Regions from separate parts of the Homo sapiens genome. Here region 1 is linked to region 2. Evidence: promoter capture Hi-C in 16 types of primary human blood cells and fetal thymus (Javierre and others, 2016). All regions are on one chromosome and are shown on one strand. Each heading gives the region's core, a stretch centred on a gene start or on the middle of the fragment in contact. The rest is flanking DNA. Distances are from core to core; before and after follow the strand shown. Region 1 overlaps NHEJ1 (non-homologous end joining factor 1). Region 2 holds the start of WNT6 (Wnt family member 6).

Region 1 (3,171 bases), core at 278-2,777, 250 kb before region 2:
AGGGAGGGGGCTGTTTTTCTCTTCTTGATCCTTCACGTTGGTGCCCGTCTGACTTATAAACTTTAATGGCCAGTTTTAAAGGTTACTGCCATGGGGCACCTTTGTTGCCAGTTTTAGTTTTTTAATTTGGAAACTTTTTTTTTATCCTTTGTGGTCTTGGGAGGAAAGATTTGGGACCATTTGGGGCTGGGAATTGGTATTTGTGAGTGATGATGAGATAGCACAGCAGCATTCTGGTTCTGGCTCCAATAACCAGAATCCCTGGCATATTATCCAGTTGCCCAAATGAACCCCAAAATGAGAAGGAAAAGACTGGCATTGAGATGTGTAGTCTTAGGCAGCATCAGTCAAGGATGTAGAGGGTTGGGGGCTTGTTGTTCTGTCTGAGAATGGTAACCATAGTTTAGGTGCTGGGGCACTGGAAAAAGAAAGAGATATCTCACTCTTATTCTAAGTCTCTTAACTCTTCTTTCATCTCTAGTCCCAATCCTTTGTTCTGAATATAGATGTCATTGACAGTGGTTAAGTTTAATTGGGATGGGAACAAGGGTTCAGATGTAGAATACACAGGGGAATGTGGCCCATGGTGGTTTCCCCACTGTAGCACAGGTATAGAACTAACAGAGTAAGCTTCACTGAGTCTTTTTGCCATTAACTCTTATACCTTAGAAAAACCTTTTTTTTTTTCCACCCAGGATAACTTCACAAAGCCTCATATGCCAAAAAAGGGTCATTGCCCATCTCAGTAATCTGTATCTCTAGGGGGAAAACAGTATTATAGAATAATACTCAAATAATAGCATCTTGGAATCAGAAGGGATTATTTATAGCACTCTCATAAAACTATCTTATTCAGGTCCTCTGTCTGAAACTAAGAATATGTGGAACTTAAAATGTATTTGGTAAGTGCTAGAAAAGAATTTTTAGAAGTTTAGTTCTGAGCGTGCCTCCTGCCTGGGTACTTTTTTGTGGATGACTAGAGTAGTAACACAAATAAATGGACAGATAATCTAACAAATAGACCCTAGGAAAAGGCAAACACATGAATCCAAGGGTGCTTAGATGCTTGCTCAAAGACATAGGCTCTTTACTTAACTGTTGGCTGGTGTCCTTGATAGCCAAAACCTATCTTTCACTCTCTAGCATTTGGATGGATTAGACTGAACTCAGGATTCAACTCTGGATGAACTTAGAGAATTCAGGAAAGGAGGCTGCTGTGGAAGGACGGACACTCAGCTCTTCAAGATGTGTGGAAGGAGGGCAGAGCCTTCTGACAGTTTTGATACTGTTCACAAGGCATATAATACAGGGTCTTGGATTCAGATCTCACTCCTGGCTGTTCTTCCTGGGCTGGACAAAGCTAGATTTTCTTCTTGTTCCCTGTGTTACAGGGCAGGGGAGGAGGTGTGGGGGTTGGCTCGGGGCTGGGCCACAATTAGTGACCTGGAAGCTGGGCTGGGCACCCAGAAGCTATAAATAGCAGTCATGGCGCAGTCGCTGAGCGGACTCGAAGCCCAGCCAGACTAGCCGCGTTTCAAGTGGTCTGGGTGGGATTTTTTTTTTTTCTCTGTTAACCATTTGTACATCTGGTTTCCTAGTGTTGGTGGGGCAAGGGAGGAGGGTGGGGCTGTAAGCAGAACAAGAAGTTCGTATGTGGAGTAACTTCTTGGTTAGTTTTGCCATATGTATATCTTGGAGCTTCTAGAGCCCTTAGAACCAGTATGGACTCTGGGAGTGAGAATTGTGGCCCTTAGAGGGAGATTAGGCCCCAGAGCAGGGCATGTGGTATGGGAAATACCTGCAGGGCACATGCCACTAATTTAAGGTATGGTGGATGTTCCTGAAGACAGAGAGAGAAGTGGGGTCCATATGGAGCAACTAAGATTATTTGGGAGCAGCCTGGGGCTTCTTATTTCTCCTTACTCTGTGAAACAGTTCCTCTGTCCCCACGATGCCAGTCTGCTTACCTTCTTCCTGATAGACATTGCTGTTTCTTGCTTCTCTGCATTTGTTCCTGTCATCTGCCCTGGGTTTTGAAATCAGAATACTTTGATTTGAATTCCAGTTCTTCCACTTTTTTGATTTGTCACCTGGGCATATTATTATGCTCCCTGGGGTTCATCTGTCAGACGAGCAATTTTGATCAGATACACCCTGAGGTTCCTTCTAGCTTTTGTAAACCATAAATTGGTTTCAATCAATCGATTTCTATTTTTCCTCTTCAGGAAGAAAATTTCACTTCTGCTGGGAAGCCCTCCCTGAATGATCAGTTCAGTTATCTTCCCCTGATTTGACAGATCATTAGCAGTTATATAGCTCATTTATCCTCCTTTCTCTTGCATATATCATATGTTTCTTTGCAGTTATTTTCTTGCTGTTTTCACATACTTACCTTTTTTCTCTTCAAGTAGATTAGAAGCTTGTTGAAGCAGGACACCATATCTTCTATATCGCTCTCTCAGCACTCATTATCAATGTTGTGGGCACCATTGAAGCCCACTCAAGTGTACTAGAAGGCAGGTAGGCCGACTTGGAGTAGAATGGGAAATAGGAAAAAATGAATATTTTTTCAGCAAATGCCAGTTTGAGAGGTGTTTTTGTTAGAGTAAAATGGAAAACAGCAAATGAGAACACAGGTTAGAAATTTCATGCATTTTACCAAACTGTGGGATTCCAGTTCACTGCTTTGCTGACTGTCTGTACTTTTTCTTTTCTCATCTTCTCTTGAAGATGAGCACAGTCTGAATCTGTGGGTTTTTTGGGCACTGTTTAATAACATTGAGTATGGCGCTACATTTTGCATAATGGTAAAAGGGCTTTCTGTTCCAAGCATAGGCTCTTTGTATTAGGTTTCAATAATCCATCTGTTGTAGGCCTCCTTTATGCCTGAAGATGAGGATATAACACTTGTAGATATCTGTGAAAATGTATATGGCCTTGTTTTCTCTGAGTCCAAGGAGAGCAGTGTCTCTTTTGCTTGGCTTTCTGTCACAGGGCTTTGATCTCCCGTCCCTTGTCTCATCCTTTCTCCTACTTTGAGCCCACTGGACCAGGCTAAACAATTCCTCCCCTCTTGGGTGTTTACACTCTCCCAGTGTTAGCAGAAGGTTATCATGTCTAGTCTCAGACGTCACTTAGGCCATCTGTCTAACTTGAGCCCCTAATCGCTCC
Region 2 (3,195 bases), core at 57-2,556:
TCCAGCCAATCACATGGCAATATGCAAATAGACACGACCCTGCCTTCTTAGGATTGGCTAACCCGTCAGCGTTATTGTCCAAGTCTCTCCTCTCTAAACACTGAGCTATTCCGGGCGAGGGTTTGCGGCTCTGGAGACCTAGGGGGAAAAAAGTCCTTTGGATCTGGATCTCTGAGCCGTCCCGGTCGGGCACCCTCCTTCCCCGCCCCGGCCCCACCCCCACCCCCAAGGCTCGAAGCTCCCGCAACCTTCGCTGCCTAGGTGTCCCTTCTAGCTAGGGCCAAGCCTGGGAAGACGCCCCCTTCCCTTGGCTGGCCAGGCCCCTCTCCCTTCCCGCAGGACCCCTCCCGGTCCCGTATCTCCCGGGCTGCACATATTTTTTCATTCATGACCCCCAGGTCTGGAAGGGCCGGGCGCCTGGGTCCGGTTCCTTCCGCTCCTCCTTTTCCTTGCTTGGGGAGGACGAGGTAGAGAAAACCAGGGTCCTGACTCACTTTCCCCTTTATATTCCCTCTGTCGTCACTAAGGCCCACTCCTCAGGAGCCCAGAGAGAAGCCGGTGGGTTGGTAGGCAAAGCAGGGCGGGGAAGGGGCAGCTGTGTGGCCCTCTCTGCCTTGTGGCTTCCCACCTTGTTCCTGTCTTCTCCAAATCCAGCCCCATACCCTGAATCCAGGGCCCTCCTCACACATTCTTTTCCTCGGATATGTGTCTTCCCGAAAGATCTTTCCTACCCACTCGCCTGTTCCTTGGTGAGCTGGGTGAGCGCATAACTTGGCGGGGGGTGGGAGAGAACCCGGGAGGAGGAAACACAATAGAATGTTCCCGAGGGTTAGGAACGTCGAAGTGGAGTTCAGAAACGCCCCCGGCCGAGGCCAGAAAGCTGGGCTCGGAGAGCAGGTAGAGCCGGGAGGCTGCGGAACACCCCAGTCTGTCCTGGGTCCCGGGGTCCCCACCCTCCAGGGTCCAGAGCCGCGCCAGGACAGCCGGACTCACCACCACAGTCCGCCGACGTGCGCCGGGCACAGGAGCAGCAGCAGCAGCAGCCCGAGGCGGGAGGGTAAGGGCGGCAGCATCGTGACCGCCCTACGGCCGCCCGGGTGGGCAGGGGGCGAGGCTGCGGGGCGAACCGCGGCGCGCGAGGGCCCGGGCTTCAGTGCGAGCGCGGCGAGCGCAACGGCGGCGGCCGGGAGGCGAGGGATCCGGCGGCGGCGGGGGGGCCCATCCCGGGCGAGGAGGGCGCGGCGGAGGCGGAGAGCGGACGGGGCAGCCAGCGCCTGTGTCTCCTGCGGAGCTCGCTCGGGAGAAGAAATCAGAGCCGGGGGCGGAGGTGGGAGGGGAGCGGGGCCGAGGCGGGGGCGGGGGGCAGGGGGCCGGAGGGAGGTGGCAGTTGCGACAGTCAGGCAGCGGGACTCTCGGGAGCGAGCCGTGCGCCCCGGGGCGGCTGGCGCGGAGCGCAGCGGAGGGCGGGAGCGGGGTGCCGGGGCGGGGCCCCAGCGCGCTTCGGGCTGTGGGACCCGCCCGCTTCGCCCCCTCGCCTCGCCTCTCTCGGACTTGGAGCCCCCCGCCGCTCGCGGCCGCCTGGAGTCGGGGGCAAGGAAGGGCTGGGAAGAAGAGTAGAGAGGGGTGAGGGGGGAGAAAGAGGAGCTGAGGAATGGGGGACGGGCTGGAAGGGAGACGTTTGACAGGTTTGTTGACTGTAAAGAGAGAAAACTTCCCAGGAATGAGGGAGTTTGGGGCGGGGGGCGGTGCGGAGGGAGATGCTGGCGCGGAGGCAAGAGAGGAAGTTGGCCTGGGGCGCGGGGTGCTTCGGCGAGGGTTGTCAAACTGGACCGCCCGACAGGCGGATGCTGGAGGGGTCATCTCTTTCCGTGTCCCTGTTCGATGCCTCATGCCCCTTCGTCAGCCTCTCCTTGAAGAAGGGAGGAAGCCCTGGGCCTCCGCTCTCGCTCCCCCAGCCATCCCACCTCTCAAGCCCGCGTTCTAGGGCGGGGAGGTGGGGGAAATGAGAGGGCAAGAGTAGCCGCTCCAGGGCGTGCGCGCAAGCGCTGGCACTTGTAAGCGAGCGGGAGAATGGAGGTCGCAGACTTTCAAGAGATCGAGGGGTCAGAATTCGCTTTAGCCCGGCCTCGCGTGTCCAAGAGTCCCTGCCTCGAGTTCCTCCCCCAACCTGGCCCGGGTAGAAGGGGTGGGAGAGCCAGCTGCAGGTGAGATGGCGTTTATCAGATTTTCTAATGCCACAAAAATGTCTTTGATGCCCCTGGCCCCCTCCCCACGAGGGGGAGATCAAAGGCTCCGTGGGGAAGAGGGACAGCTCCATTCATCATGCCATTCGGCTGGCAGTGGGCAGCAGCCCCTGCCCCTCCCGTCCCCGACGTGCCCCGGGGTGCCAAGGGACAGGTGGTGTGGGACATTCTCCCTGCCATACCATCAAGAGCAACCATCAACCTTTAAAGCTGTCCTGGAGTGGGGAGGACAGATCGAGTCCCTATGGCAGAAACGTCAGGCGCCCAGAAGAAAGCTCCTGGTTGTTGGTAGAGAGGGGGACCTGAATGTGGGGACTGAGGTCGCTTCCAAGAGAGTGATGACTGAGGTCACTTCCAAACAACCTTGGTGAGCAGAGAGAGAAGACAAGATCCTGAGTCACCCAGAGAGGGGGGACAAGTAGATCAAGATGAGGCCAAGGGGCCAAGGGATGTGACCCCAGGGGAGGAGGCTGATGGGGGAAGGAATGAGCAGACAGAGGTGAGAGAACTGGAGAAGTGTGGACTTGCCGGCAAGCAAGCTCCATGTCAGGGCCCTGGTGTCCAGGCTGCATCAGCTCAATCCCTTGCACTGGATACAGAGAGTTCTGGTGAAAGGGCTAGGACACACTAAAGAAGGGGAAGGGGGCAGGGGGCAGTGGCAAGAGTCATAGAGAGAGGGTCTGGTCTAAGCACTGCCCTCTCCCATTTTAGCCTTTAACAGTATCCAAAGGCCACGCACAGCCCCTGCACCTAGTAACTTTGCACACAGTTGCTGTTTCTACGGGGCAATGCCAATCTGGACAGTTCCTAAAGGTCAATGCCAACTCTGGACACTACACATTCAAAGACATACCCAGTTTGGGTGCACACTCCAGCCATGTGGTACCAAATAGGCAGCTAGAGGGCTCTGGGGGTCCCTGGAGGCTACAGGTGGCCAGTGGCCAGCCTCCTG

The links. The method cuts DNA at HindIII sites, captures the fragments that hold promoters and counts their contacts. A CHiCAGO score of 5 or more calls a contact.
Region 1: a fragment that was not itself captured here is called in contact with the fragment with the promoter of WNT6 in region 2 in 1 of 17 cell types (naive B cells); the score reaches 5.1 in naive B cells.

The regions. Positions count from the first base shown.
Region 1 is chr2:219,106,330-219,109,500 of GRCh38, reverse strand. The region is part of intron 5 of NHEJ1 (non-homologous end joining factor 1); the gene reads left to right. Among named protein-coding and RNA genes, the nearest start is that of IHH, 47 kb to the right of the region's middle. The HindIII fragment of the contact is 1,789 bases long and covers 633-2,421 here.
Region 2 is chr2:218,857,916-218,861,110 of GRCh38, reverse strand. It overlaps WNT6 (Wnt family member 6), which reads right to left and starts at 1,306. Exons shown (of 4, transcript NM_006522.4): 1 at 994-1,306. The coding sequence starts at 1,073. The HindIII fragment of the contact is 26,174 bases long and covers 1-3,195 here.